Regions from separate parts of the Homo sapiens genome. Here region 1 is linked to region 2. The links are contacts of gene promoters, found by promoter capture Hi-C in blood cells and fetal thymus (Javierre and others, 2016). All regions are on one chromosome and are shown on one strand. Each heading gives the region's core, a stretch centred on a gene start or on the middle of the fragment in contact. The rest is flanking DNA. Distances are from core to core; before and after follow the strand shown. Region 1 overlaps LOC107985743 (a long non-coding RNA gene). Region 2 holds the start of GBP4 (guanylate binding protein 4).

Region 1 (6,689 bases), core at 1-2,500, 560 kb after region 2:
TGATTACCACGAACTGAGAAATCTCTGCAATTAGCAGGAGTGTAACTGGAAAACCAAGGGCTCCTCTGTGCCTTACCAAAAGACATTCCCTCTTCCTCTGGCAAGTTGAAGAAGATAATTTGGCCAGCCTAGGAGGAAGTGATTGATTGAGACAGAAATGGTGGAGAGAAGGATGACTGTGATTTTTACTTTGGTGATGGGCATGAACATAACAAAGAACAGATGGTGGATGCCTTAGTCCCACTGGTGTTATCAATTCCGTAGCCCTGAGCCCTGCCCTGCTACAGGCTTATGTAATTCTCAAGCATGTGCTCTCATGGCCCAAGGGGAGACTATGCAGCACAGACCCTCCAGCTGCGAGGTTAACTCATCAATGCTCCACCCTTGTCATCTTTGGGTTCCAGCACTCAGGCCCTGGATATGCCTCTCACCAGAAGTGAACACTTGGTGGGGGCTGCAATAGACCCAATGAACACATCAGCTGCAGTTTGCATCTAAAAGAAATGATTCCAATGTAACATGACAGGGGACATATGAGACGATGAGTAAACAATAGAGAATAAAAATAATGGAGGAAGAGTTGAGGAAAAGGTCTCCTTTGGGCTAGGATAAAGTCATTTCCTTAGCCAGATCTAAGGGTTTAACTCTTAATTTGGAGGCACCAAGAAGTTACAACACAGTGCTACTTGAAGCTTATTTTATAGATAACATACTTAACTGTTAACAGATTCAGTTAGCTGTTTACAGTTTAGTTAACTGGATATAGTTCTCAACCCACATGGGGTCAGTCATTTTCAACAAATCTTTTTATTTTCTCTATAGAATTCAGAGTTCAAGAGCTCCTTAAAGGATACACAAAACTGTCATCAGTAGTTAAGATTTCGGTGGTCTGGGGGTGAATTCCAGGTAAGTAGTCCCTCTTATCAAATGTCTCTTTAACAATGCTTGCAGCTATCTTGATGTGACAACCATCACAAAAGCAAATATTAATCAGATCACTAAAGGGACACAAATAACCGACACTAGCCAAGAAAGAATTCAAATATATTTTTGAACTAGTTTGGGGCCAACTTTTGTGTGAGAAGAGGAATTGAGTTCACTTCATCTGGTGTTAACTGAAATAAGAGTTAATGTGCCAAATATCTTCATCAGTGACTAAAACTAAGACCACAGATTAGAGTGCCAAAGGGTGTAACTAGAAGGAAGTGTCAGCATTGCAGAAAAGAATGCAAAACCAGGAGGATCTCATGTGAAGGGCTGGCTGCCTAATGGATAAGAAATATGGCCAGAACACAAGGAAGGAGACTGGCGAGTAATAAAGCTGAATTTAAAGGCTCTCAACAAAGCCACCTTCTCTTGCAGGATTACCACTCCTCCTGCTGCTCTCAGGACAATTCCTGAGCGCGCTGGTGAGAGGCTATGTTCAATCATCCCCAGGGTCCTTCAGCTCTTCCTTCCCTGTTGAAGTAGAAATGAAGATCAATTTTACTTAAGTAAACATTTGGTTCTCACAGCCATAAGAGAGAAAGTTCGGTTCTCAGAGAAGTACGTACAACTTACTTCTCTTAAGACAGCTCCGTTTTCCTAAAGACAGTTTATGAACCCCCAAGAACCTACAATGTTCCCTGGAGCCAGTTTAAAGTGTTGAGTCCTCTCTGGTTCTAGGATTCTAGAAGGATCAAAGTTTATTAACAAATCATATAGCAACTACGACTGCCCAACTTTTCCACACAGTTTCTTCTCCGTAACCAGATCATGTTAATGTAATTACTATCAAAATTTAAATAAGTTTTTTTCATAGACATAGACAAGCTTACTCTAAAATTTATATGGAAAGGGAAAGACCCAAGAATTGCAAAAAACAAAAAAAAAAAAAAAAAAAAAAAAACTTTAAAAACAAGAATAAAGTGGGAAGAATCACGCTTCCAAATGTTAAGGCCCTATATATAAGTGCTGTATCCAAACAGTATGGTATTGGTAGAGGGAACAGGCAAAGCAATCAATCAGTGGAACAGAATAGAGAACACAGATATAGACCCACTCAAAATTCCCATTAATTTTAGACAAAGAAGTAAAAGCAATGCAATAGAGGAGAAACAGCCTTTTCAATAAATGGTGCTGGAGCAATTGGACCTAAACCAATACCAAAATTAACTCAAAATGGATAATTGACTAAAACATAAACATACAACTATATAAGAGAAAAATCTTTGGGGTGTAGGACTAAGCAAAGTTCTTAGACTTGACACCAAAAGCATGAGCCATAAGAAGAAAAATTTATAAATTGGATCTCATCAAAATTAAAAACTTCTGTGAAAGACCTTGGACAAAGGATCAAAAGACAAATTACAGACAGGAAGAAAATATTTAGAAATTACATCTCTAAGAAAGGTCTTGAGTCTAAAATATATAAATAACTCTCAAAATTAAGAAAAGGACTGCTTTTGTTTGAATGTTTGTGTCTCTCCAAAACTCATATGTTGAGATCTAAACCCCAAGGTGATGGTATTAAGAGGTGGGACCTTTGGGAGGTGATTAGGTCATGAAATGGAGGGCTCATGAGTGAGAACAGTGCCCTTATAAAGGAGCCCAAGGGAGCTTATCTTCCCTTTTCACTTAGTGAGGACGCAGGGGAAAAGAACTGTTCTAGGAAACAGGAAGTGAGCACTCACCAGAAACCAAATCCAATCTTGGACTTCCAGCCTCCAGAACTGTGAGAATTAAATTGCTGTTGTTTATAAGTCATCCAGTTTACAGTGTTTTGTTATAGCAGCCTGAGCAAGCCAGACAAGGGCCCAAGGCCTCCATCAGCACCACGTTTTATGATATGTGTTCTGTGAACCATCTGACTTCGGATCTTAGAGGAGGAGGTAGCAGAGGGATTGGTAAAATGCCGATTCCCATGGACTGCTCCAGAAATTCTGATTCCATAGATTTGGGCAGGACCTGAGAAATCTGCATTTAAAACAAACTCCTTGAGAGACTTTTTTTATTATTATTAAAGTTTGAGAACTCCCACCATGGCCCAATCTACCAAATTATAAAGGAAGAGCATGCTGGGCATGGTGGCTCATGCCTGTAATCCCAGCACTTTAGGAGGCTGAGGCGGGTAGATCACTTGAGATCAGGAGTTCGAGACCAGCCTGGCCAACATCGTGAAACCCCATCTCTACTAATAATACAAAAATTAGCTGGGTGTGGTGGTACGCGCCTATAATCCCAGCTGCTTGGGAAGCTGAGGCAGGAGAATTGCTTGAACCCAGGAGGCAGAGCTTGCAGTGAGCTGAGATCGCACCACTGCACTCCAGCCTGGGCAACAGAGTGAGAGTCCATCTCAAACAAACAAACAAAAAAGAAGAGCAGCATTAGAAAGAAAACCTGTACTGGGACAGTTGTGCCCTAAAGGGGCAAGCAAAAAGAAAGGGAATAAAGACTAGCAACAACCCAGAAGTGCTGTGAACAACAGTTTCTAAGAAGTGACCATTCTCTGTATTTATTAGGATGTGAAAGAAATGAAGTTCCCTCTCTCACACACACATTCGAGAATACAAGTCTGAGGAGAACCTGCTCTGGGTGAAGAATTTTTTTTATAATTCTCATATTCATGCTCAAGGAGCATGCACTCCTAGGCATATATTCACAAGGGGCTATGAGAGCCCTGGAGAGACCAGGTACTCTGAGGGTAGGACACATACTTTAGCAACTTGGGGGACACATTCTCAAGCTGAAATGGTGTCTCTGGAGCCCATACGAGTTGTGCCTGTGGGGGCCCCACAGACAGGGACCCTTGGCATTGCTGATAATTGAAGGGTCTGCCACAGAGGTCTCTAACATGACTTTCTACCACCATCTTTCCTGCTCACTTGCACATCAATAGACACACAGGTATATTGAGCAGCAGCTCTTCCTCACCTTGTCATCAAACAGTCTGTTTCTGCCTTCACCATTTTGCATCTGACCTTTCACAGGTAGCAAGAGAAGAGTCTAAGGAGCAGCAGGCAACGTGCTGAAGTGCAGAGCCAGGTCAAGGCTGGGTTTGTCTGAGCAGCTGGTGAGTAAGAGAGCTGTGACCAGGGCTCTGAGAAATATGGACAGGGGCCAGCCTGACAAAGACAACAAAGAACTGCCCAGGGGAAGGTGAAGAAGGTAACTGTCAACCCTTCAAAAAGTGAAATGGCGTTAGTAAGATGAAGGCCAGCCCATAAGAGATGCCAGCCAAGATGGAATAATGCGCAGATTTTCATCTAAGGGTGGGAATGACCTGTCGGCCTGATCCAGGCACACTGGCTTCTGAGATTCCCTTCCTAGCCCTGCCCACACACCCCCCACCCGACGCCCTTTCCCCAGCCTAGGTCCCTGAGTTTCTCATTCGTTGCTCACTTGTGTCTATTGTATGTCTTCTTCGTCAAAATCGAGCAGGGACTAATTAGCGGTGAAAGCAGAGACTCCAGCTCATTTCCGTTCACCTCATTATTTGTTTCTCTTTTGGGCTGAAGCCAAACAACAATCAAACATTAACATTCCCCCTGCAGAGCGGGCACACGGACACATGGGAGCATGTTACACACACCACACCCTCACAGCGTGCACACATGCACATGCACACACACACACCTGCTCCACTGCTATTCGGCTGTGCGAGGTCTCTGCGGCCCCGCTGTCTCCGGGCATCTAGGGTAACATCTCTTTCCATTTCAGACCTGGGACTGGTCTGAAACTGTATAATGGAATGGCCCTGGGCAAGCAGGGAAAGGACGTTGGGAATTTCCGGAAGCACAATCCCCCTGGCCAGCACTGGTGTTAATTAAGGGCGCTGCTGGTGTTTTGCAGGCAGCTGTTTCCTCCTCCGGCCCTCCTGTTCCCCGGGCCGCCTGGGCACCGGCGCCTGCACTCTGGCATTCATTGCTCTACCGTAAGCCTTGTTTCTAGCCGTTTTCAATCAAGTGGGAGACTGTCCAAATTTCCGTCTCAATGAAAATCAACTGTTCTAAATCTAAGCTCCCATTAAGCGTTCCAGGGGCTGGCCTGACTTGGAATTTAAGCAGCAGCGCAGCCCTCCCTGGAGTGAGCGGCGGCCGGGGCTCCAGATAAGGCGGGCCTGCCTCCTAGTGGCCAAGGTGCTGCAGGGCAGCTCTGAGGGCTGGAGGGCTGCGCAGCCGCCACCCGAGGACACGGGGAGGAGGCACAGTAAGAGAATCCTTAGAGCCTAACGCCCCCTTCTCCGTCGCTCTCGAGCCGCTCCAGTCCCCAAGTCCCATCCCCTTTCCTTCCCCGACATCTCTCCTCGTTGCCTCACTCTGGCTCCGTCGAACTGCAGTGGTCTGTTAGCTGGACTCTATCTCCAGCTTCTGTATCGAATCCATGCACCTCGCTGCCAATTCGTCTTCCGGACGCTCGTTGTCAGTCCTCTGTGATCTCTAATTAAGGCTCTGCTGAGTCTCCTCTTTATCTATAGGGAGAATCCTCAAGCGGGGAGACACACCCTTCCTGCAGAGGCGTATCGCCAGCCACGACAAGGCGAGCCGCGTTTCTCCCCACACTCCCCAAAAAGGCGATGACCCTCCCCAGGCCGCGCTCACGCTGAACCCCTGTTGCTGAGCTGCAGTTCCTGGAGGTGTCCTGTCCTCAAATGTGGGGATGCGGGGAAAAGATTAAGAAGGTAAAAGTTCAAACCAGGCAAAAGTTCAAACCTCTTGGCACTCCACAATGTGGCCTCAAGCTTCCCTTCTAGCTTTAGTGCTAGAGTAGAATGAAATGAAGGGTTGGAATGCCAGGTGTGCTACGTTTTAGTCATGGAACTGTATGAAAGGTTCTAAATTCTAAATGTCTTTACAGGGTTGTCATGGAGACTAAAAGAGGTCGCCGGAGTATCAAATTTAGCACAATGCTTGCCACATAGTGAATGTTCAATAAATGGCAGCTGTCATTTTCCTTCCCCCGTTAGAAAGACAACTGGTTTGCTCACAGTTCTGATACCGGCCTTGAACTGAACTTTCCATCTCTGCACCTCGGCTTTTGACACCCTATTTGCCTGGAGCGTCCACTATCACCACTTTGGTTAAAGCTACTGTCACCTCCTGCAATAGACTAATTCATCTCCCTGCTCCTGCCCACAGTTATTTTTAATCTAGCCACCAGAATTTTTTTAAGTGTAAATCAGATTATGTCACTCATCTGCTCAAACCCCTATTGTAGCTCCCTATTTCACTCGGTGTAAAAGCCAAAGCACTCACCATGTCCTGGAGGCCCTACATGATCTGGCTCTTTTCCCCCTTCATGTTATTTCCCATACCTTTCTCCCTTGTTCACTCTGTTTCTTCCACAATGACCAATTGCTTTTGCTGGAAAGCACCAGCAATTTATTAATAGCCTTTGTGTTGGCTTTTCCCTCTACCTAGAATATTTTCCTCACATACCTGCATAGCTCTTTCGCTTACTTTTTCATGACTTTGTTCAGTTGTCACCTTCAAAAAAAAAAAAAAAAAAAAAAAGCCAGCCAGGCATGGCGGCTCATACCTGTAATCTCAGCACTTTGAGAGGTGAAGGCAGCAGACAGCTTGGGCCCAGGAGTTCCAGACCAGCCTGGGCAACACGGCAAAACCCCATCTCTACAAAAAATACAAAATATATTTTTCGTAGAGGACGGTGGCACACACCTATAGTCCTAGCTACTTGGGAGGCAGGAGGAC
Region 2 (7,666 bases), core at 2,279-4,778:
CAGAGGGAAGCCTGCAGGGAAGAGGAAAAATAACAAACAGTAACAGTGGATAGACCAGGATGTCCCAGGATTACACCGGTTAAACTTGTAGGAATGTTTAAGTGGCTGACAGGGGAAAAGGGTTGTTTCCATCTCAGGCAGGACAACTAATCTGACCTTTATATGTATTAAGAATTTTCTCAAACTTGTTTTCTTTCTTAAACTTGTTTAGTAGACAGCGGTTCAGTCCCTAATGGTGCCGAGCTGCTGAGCCAGAGAGGAAGTAGGACATTAGGGGGAAGAAATGGCTGCATGGTCTTTCTTTAAAAACAGAAGCACCTAACAGAGCCATAGGTAGATTGTCTTAAAAGTCAGTAAGAACCAAAAGAGAAACCTGGTAGGAAAAAATAATTTAAAAAAAAAGCTTTCACAAAATAAGAAATGAAAATGGCAATTGATATGTGAAAAGGTACTTAAACTTACTCATAGTGAAATAAATGGCATGCAACAATACATTCTACAGGGCAGCACAAGTTAAAAGGCTTTATGTTACTGAATTTTTCGCAGGATGTAAAATTCTCAGTCACTGCTAATAAGCATGTAAATTGCATTTGAATTTTGAAAAGCTATTGGACTTTATCTAGAAATTTTATGTACTCTCTGATTCAGAAATCCCACTTCTGAGAATATTACACAAAGGAAGATTTTGTACATGTGCACCAGGATATAAATAATAAGAGTATTAATGACAGCCTTATTCATTAAAGATAAAAACTGGAAAAATACCAATTTTCAACAATAAATAAATGTACTGTCCTTAGGTAGTGGCATACTGTCTGAGGGTATAAATAATGGGTACACATAGTAACTAGAGAAAACTTATAAACTTCTTATTGAGCAAAAGAAGCAAGACATCCAAAAATACACACAATATAATTTCCTTTATGTAAAGTTTAAAAGCAGACCAACCTAAACTATGTTTTAGAATGCATATATATTATGTAGAACCATTTTTAAAAACCAAGAGTCAAAGAAGTGTGCCCTGAAAACAAAAACACTGGTGAGTTCTAGTGAAGGTATGACAGGGTATGATTTTTGGATGTTTAGGTTTGGTAATGTTTTATTTCTTGATCTGGATAGTGATTTCTCATGTATTCACTTTATTAACTTCACTGTAAAGGTATGTTGTACATACTCTTCTTTATGTGTCATAGTTCACATATTAGAAAGACTAACTAGAAGGGAATATAATTTATCAGAGTTTTGCCATGAAATGAAGCAAAAAATTAGAAATGGTAGCCCAATTTAAATAGAGGATACACAAGAATTATAATGCCTGTCCTTCTTCATATTTATTTTTTAAAACAGGATCTATTAAACTATATTTGTGTGCTATTTGAAGTGACCAGGTATCCTACACAAAAGTGATGAATGAGAAAGAAAGGGAATAATTGCTGGGGCTGAGCCCCTGAAGAGGTGAGCATAGATGGGATGAAGAAGACCCATGGAACGGATCTTTCGATAGGGTTGAGATGATTCTTTACTATTGGACTAAAGAGTGATATATATTTGAGATTGTAAATTTAGTGGTGAGAATTAGAAGTTTTCTTCATTGGGAGAAGTCATGCCCTTCTTTAGGATGACCCTAGAGGGGGTGTGATCAGCTGTGTTATCACTGGTTCCAAGTAAATGGCTCCTGTCCTAGGACCACACTCACCATTGCGCTTTCCTGCAAGACGATTCATGAGATAGGATTTTCCTGTGCGGTATAGCCCTACAATGGCCACCACCACCACGGGCTGAGAAATCTTGTCAAGAATCTCTAATGCCTTTGAATTCACTGTCAGCTGCTCTTCCTGGTTTTCCACTAGACAAATGGGGGCCATCATGATGGATTCAGATTCTGGATAACCTGTAACCCAGAAAAAAATACTCAGTAGAATACAAGATCTTGAAGTCATCCCTAAGGGCTACCTAAGGCACATACATATTAGCTTTTTGCTTGTGGAATGGTATATAAAATTTCTACATTTTAATGGTATATAAATATATTTCTACGTTTAATGGTATATAAAATTTCTATGTATATAAAATTTGTACATTTCAAATGGAAAAATATTTAGTTTAGCATGTCAAAGACTAGTACAGATCTGTTATGTACATTATTTATGATTCTTACAAGAACGCTAAAAATGCCTTGTCAAGGTGATGCATAAAATAAACAGAATTAGAAAATCAAGGCACTGATGGCAGAATAATTCCACTCCTGGAATAAATAGGGGCAGGATGTTACAAAAAGGAGATGAGGAGTGGTTAGAAAAGGCTCCAGGCATTCCAGAAGAATTTGCTCTCTCATTAATTTAATAAAGAGTATTGCGTACCTACCATGTGCTAATTAACACCGTTCTAGATTCTCAGCAACAAGCAAGGAACATAATTGATACAAACTTCTGCCTCTTGGAGCTCTATTTGTTGTAACCCAGCGAGTTACAGAGAAACGCCACACTCTGAGACGAATTCAGGAGTCCTTTATTAGCCGGCGACCGAGAGACGGCTAGTGCTCAAAATTCTCTCGGCCCGAAGAAGGGGCTAGATTTTCTTCTATACTTTGGTTTAGAAAGGAGAGGTTGGGGGGAGGGGTCTAGTTAAAACAATCCTACAGAAGTAAAGTAGGCAAAAAGTTAAAAGGATAAATGGTTACAGGAAAGTAAACAGTACTAGGTGCAGGGGCTTTAATTCTATCACAAGGTGATAGAAGCGGGGCTTTGGGCTTTATCAACCAGACACAAACGCGGGGGGCTCTGGGTGCTGTTAACCGGGCGAATTCCTGGGAACTGCGGGTATGGCTTGCCACAGTACCTTATCAGTTAATTGCATTCTTGGATGTGCTGGGAGTCAGCTTGCACAAGTTAAGTCCCTGAGGAAGCGGGTGGGTAAGGGGCTGCAAGTGAAGGAGCCGAGATGCAGACTGTCTGGCTCTTTCAGCTAAGGGAGAGTCAACTCAGGTTAAAACAAGGTAGGGTATCACATATTCTAGTGGGGGACAGAAAATTAATAAAACAAACAAGCAAAAAATGTGTATATGTATACTAGATGATGGTATTTCGCAGGAGAAAATGCCACAGCTCTGGGAGGAAGCCCGAGGAGGAGCAGCGCATCCTGGAGACACCGGTGCGCCTCTGGTCGCCGCCTGTGGACCGTCTAGAGACGCTGGGCCACACGGAGCAAAGCACTCAGGGGTTCAAGCAGCATCAGACTTCCCCGCGAGGTTCCTCCACTGCCTTTGTCACCCGCCAGTGTGAAGTCTCCAACCCTCCCCGTGTGCAGTCTGCGCTTGGGAATTTGTTGTTGTTTGTTATAACCCAAATATACTTGAAAGGTAAAGCTTAAGAGCAAACTTACCTGGTGTGGGCACTGCAGCGTGAAGAGTTCTCTCACCCATTGCTCTGTCCTCCTGCGCCTGGATCCTCGAGAAACGGACTGTTCTTAGAAGCTGAAAGTCCAGCCGGATTTACAGACATCCAAGTAAGAGTCTGTGAGAACCGAAATTGAAAGGACATGCACTTTGTGGGGAGTTGACTGTTGGGGATTTTCCTGTTTATCAAGACAGGAAACTAAAGGAGCTTGAAAGTGCTGGTTCCTCCACACCAGACTCCTGAAACTCAGGTTTGTTTGTCCCTCTTCCACCCTTAGCTTAGGTATCTTTCGCCTCCAAAATGAATATAGAGCAGCAGACATGAATGTTGTTTCATCTACCTGTCTCTCAGGGGTAATTTTGTCAGGGAAGAAATTTGAGTTTTTGTTTGCTTTTATTTTTTTTTACATGCTTATATGTTTCTGTTTCTCATCTCTTTTCTTTATTTTTTCATTAACCATAAAATATGTGTGTGTTTGTGTGTGTGTCTATGGATATCTATGTATCCTCTAACGTTGTTGCCCAGAGGTGCGGTGGTGGCAAGTAAATACTTCTCTTTCAAAACACAAACATCTCATTGAAACTGGATCTTTTGGAGGACAGGAGGATGATTGGACCATAAAAAGCATAATTTATAATTAGGAGTCTTACCCAGGCTACCAGAAAAATGGACTCAGTTCCTAAAATGACTAGCCAGTTTGTTAACAGAGTTTGGGAAATCTATCTGAAATAAATGGGTAATGATTCCCCATTTGTGCCTATCCCTTAGATCTTCCTATTTGTTTAGTAATGTCTGATTAAACATTTGCAAATTAATAAGTACAAAATTTTAGGCACTTAATCAGGTAAAATTACTGGTGCCGATTTTGATTCAAAACTTAACATTTATTTCCTATAAGCAATATTGAAAGTGAAAATAAAGCTAAGTCAAGTTTTAAATAGGACCAGTAATAAGAAATCAGGTGCTTTTTTCTCTTACCATTTTTTAATGTCAGGAAGTCCCTCTCTCTTAAAAAAAAAAAAAAAGAAGAAGAAGAAAAAGTACAGGGATGACTGAATCCAGGTAAATGTGTTTGAAACACCTGAATTTCACCAGTGGCACCCCTTTCCAGATAATCCAATGTTACTGACTTCAGATAATCATGGAAATGTTAATCAAGAAGAAATTTAGGCTGGGTGTGGTGGCTCACTCCTGCAATCCAACCATTTTGGGAGGCCAAGGTGGGCAGATCACTTGAGTCCAGGAATTGGAAACCAGCCTGGGCAATATGGGGAAACCCCATCTCTACAAATAATAATAATAATAAATTAGCTGGGCATAATGGCATGTGCCTGTTATAATAGTCCTAGTTACCTGGGAGTCTGAGGTGGGAGGATGACCTGAGCCCAGGAGGTCAAGGCTGCAATGAGCCATGGTGGTCCCACTGCACTCCAACCTGGGCAACAGAGTGAGATACTGTCTCAAAAAAAATTGTTAATTCACAGTTGTATGTATAATGATTGCACATAGCAATATGTCTATGCACATAGAAAATATACATAGCAATATGTCTGTGTTACACAGATAAAAGTCTATAAGTGTTCCCCCAACCACTACCTCCTTAAAATTAGTACTTCTAGCTCAGGTGATTTTTTTAAAATGTCTTTCTGAATTATATGAATTTTTAAAGACTTTTTTTATAATCACAGATATGCACACACATACTCATAAAAAGGAAATAACTTTTATTTTGATAAAAAGACTCTGAACATTTTTTGAATATTTTTCCATATCAGATTTTGAGCTTCTTATTTATACATTTTTTGAATATTTAAAGTGCAATGTCTATATGTTTTTGTATTTTGTGGTTAACTTGTAATTCATTTACAAGATGTATCAAATAAAACAGTTTTTTGAAATGAGGGTGTTTTACTGGCTCACTGATTTTGGAAGGAAACTGGAGGAAATGAGTTGCAGATGTTTTTAATCTCACTGAGCAAGGCAAGGAGACAGAAAGTTATGACGTTAGTAGATCATACAGGGCAAGTGATAATGTTATCTGTGTGTACTTACTTTAATATAGTTCAGAATAGTCACTGTCGTGTGTGTGTCTGTGTTTTTACAAATTGACATTCTGGAGGTAGTGATAAGCATATGAATGGCCCAATCTGGAATGATCTCCTGAAGAAGAGGTACCCTGTTCTGTGTCAACACCAAATTCTTATCAACTGGCATAAAGGATGTAGAAGTAATAATAACACCATTGTTGTTTAACAGAGGTGATTGGCTCAAAAAATAAGCATGAAGAAGTGTCTTTGTCTGTTTGGGCGTCTATAAAAAATAAGTAAATTGGGTAAGTTATACACAACAGAAATTTACTTCTCACATTCTTGAAGGCTGAGAAACACACGATCGAGGCATGGGTAGATTGGGGGTCTGATAAGGGTATGCTTCCTGGTTCATGGTTGGTGGCCCCTTGATGTGTACTCACATGGTGAAGGGCAAGGCAGGTCTCTGGAGTCTCATTTATAAGGGCACTAGTCTCACCAGTTTCATTCTCATGACCTAAGTTCATTCTCACTTCCTAAATGACCCACTGTCTAATACTATCACACTGGTGATTAGGTGTCAACATTGGTGATTAGGTGTCAATATACTTTGGGGTGATGGGGAGGTGCAAACATTCAGACCACAGTAAGAATGAATAAAATCAGACAAGCCTCCAGGCCTATGCCATCTGTGCAGTGTTCCAGTTGAAGAGCCCTGCTTTTCACACTCCATAGAGGATTTTGCCACTTGGTCTAACTTCAAGGCCAGTCACAGAGCCTCACCATATTCAACTTGGAATGAACTCTGGCTTCAAAGGAGCAGCGTCCATAGGCTAAGAACACATTACATGACTATTTGCAGCTACTTGCTATTGAATTTTTGACACAATTTAATCCAGGATTTTTTTAGTGTCATGTAACTGAAACAAAAATGGTATCAAGTATTGGGGGATGGGGATTTATGACTTCTCTGAGTTCTAACCACAAGGGGCATTTCACACTTTTAAAAATGATTCTATAACGCTTCACATTACTATTTAATTACTGATCAAAGCCAATCTACTCAGTAGTACCCAGGAACAACACATTTTCTTTGAAATTAAACAAAAGAGAGTATATTAGAAAGATGAACTAAAGCATTCAAATGAAAATGTGGGGCTCGTCGTTAAAAAAATCATCAAGAAATTCAATATAATAATTTCAAATCAAGCATTGACTTTTCTGAGGCTATGGTACTACATGACTGCATAATTTGCTTATCCATGAAGACAGAGCTATACATAAGATTTTTTTTTCTGAAAAACACTCTTTTCTCTCTTTTCCCTCTTTCCTTTTCTCTTTTCCTCTTTTTCCTTCTTTCATTTGCAATAATGCCAAAGATCTGTTGTTAGTTTTGATTTAGACTCAGAGTAATGTAAAATTAGGAGAAATCACACATTGCCCTTAATACTGTGAAGATCGAATACCTAAAATTATCTTATTTACACTATTTTACATAGGTTAAGTTCATGCTTTCAGAGAAGTCAGTGAAGAGTTAATCTCCAAAGCCCTTGGAGTTGGAACAAAACCTTTATGATGATCCTGATGTAGCTGAAGCTTTTATGGAGATTATTTAAATACATAACTTCACTGAAACCCTGTTTTCCGAGGCTTATGTTTCCAAATCGATCACTCTCGTGTGCTTTAACTGATAGCTCCCGGTGATTCCACTAGTTACGGTCCAGATGTTATTTCCTCCAAGAGACTTTATTTGGTTTATACAACTGAACTAGATCCCTACTTCTCTGCATCTATGGCACCCTGTTCTGATCACACTGTATGTGTGGTCTCCCTAATGAGGCTTTAGGCTTTTATCTTGTTTACTGCCCTTTTATAGTATTTAGCACAGAGCCCTGGAATTCAGCTGCTCAATAAATATTTATTAATTCTATTGTTCACCCCAGTGTTAAAATAAGATCTTATCTTAATATTCCAAAGTATTTGAGCTTACCAAGGAGAAAAGTTCAGGGAAACAGAACTTAATCTCATTCTTCATGATTCATATTCACATTTTGCAGAAATATTACAGATAAGCTGAATCAAGGTAGCCAATTAAATGTTGAGAATCAAGAGTAAAGAAGATTTCTTCATGACTCTGCCTTAACCTTCCTGCATAACCCAGACCCTCAGTGTGGTTCTGCTTGGAGAGAGTCCTACATCCAGAACCCTGGGTTCCAGACCTCATAGCAGAACCCACACAGAAGC

What was found. The method cuts DNA at HindIII sites, captures the fragments that hold promoters and counts their contacts. A CHiCAGO score of 5 or more calls a contact.
Region 1: a contact is called between a fragment that was not itself captured here and the fragment with the promoter of GBP4 in region 2, in 2 of 17 cell types (non-activated CD4 T cells and naive CD4 T cells). The highest score is 7.8, in non-activated CD4 T cells.

The regions. Positions count from the first base shown.
Region 1 is chr1:89,758,035-89,764,723 of GRCh38, forward strand. It overlaps LOC107985743 (a long non-coding RNA gene), which reads left to right. Exons shown (of 3, transcript XR_002958333.2): 3 at 823-904. Among named protein-coding and RNA genes, the nearest start is that of LRRC8D, 60 kb to the right of the region's middle. RefSeq lists an enhancer at 4,700-5,200. The HindIII fragment of the contact is 1,120 bases long and covers 691-1,810 here.
Region 2 is chr1:89,195,414-89,203,079 of GRCh38, forward strand. GBP4 (guanylate binding protein 4) reads right to left here and starts at 3,529. Exons shown (of 11, transcript NM_052941.5): 1 at 3,382-3,529; 2 at 1,697-1,891; 3 at 1-11. The coding sequence starts at 3,421. It overlaps LOC107985076 (a long non-coding RNA gene), which reads left to right and starts at 2,934. Exons shown (of 3, transcript XR_002958332.2): 1 at 2,934-2,995; 2 at 3,090-3,645. RefSeq lists a silencer at 3,333-3,627. The HindIII fragment of the contact is 3,654 bases long and covers 3,363-7,016 here.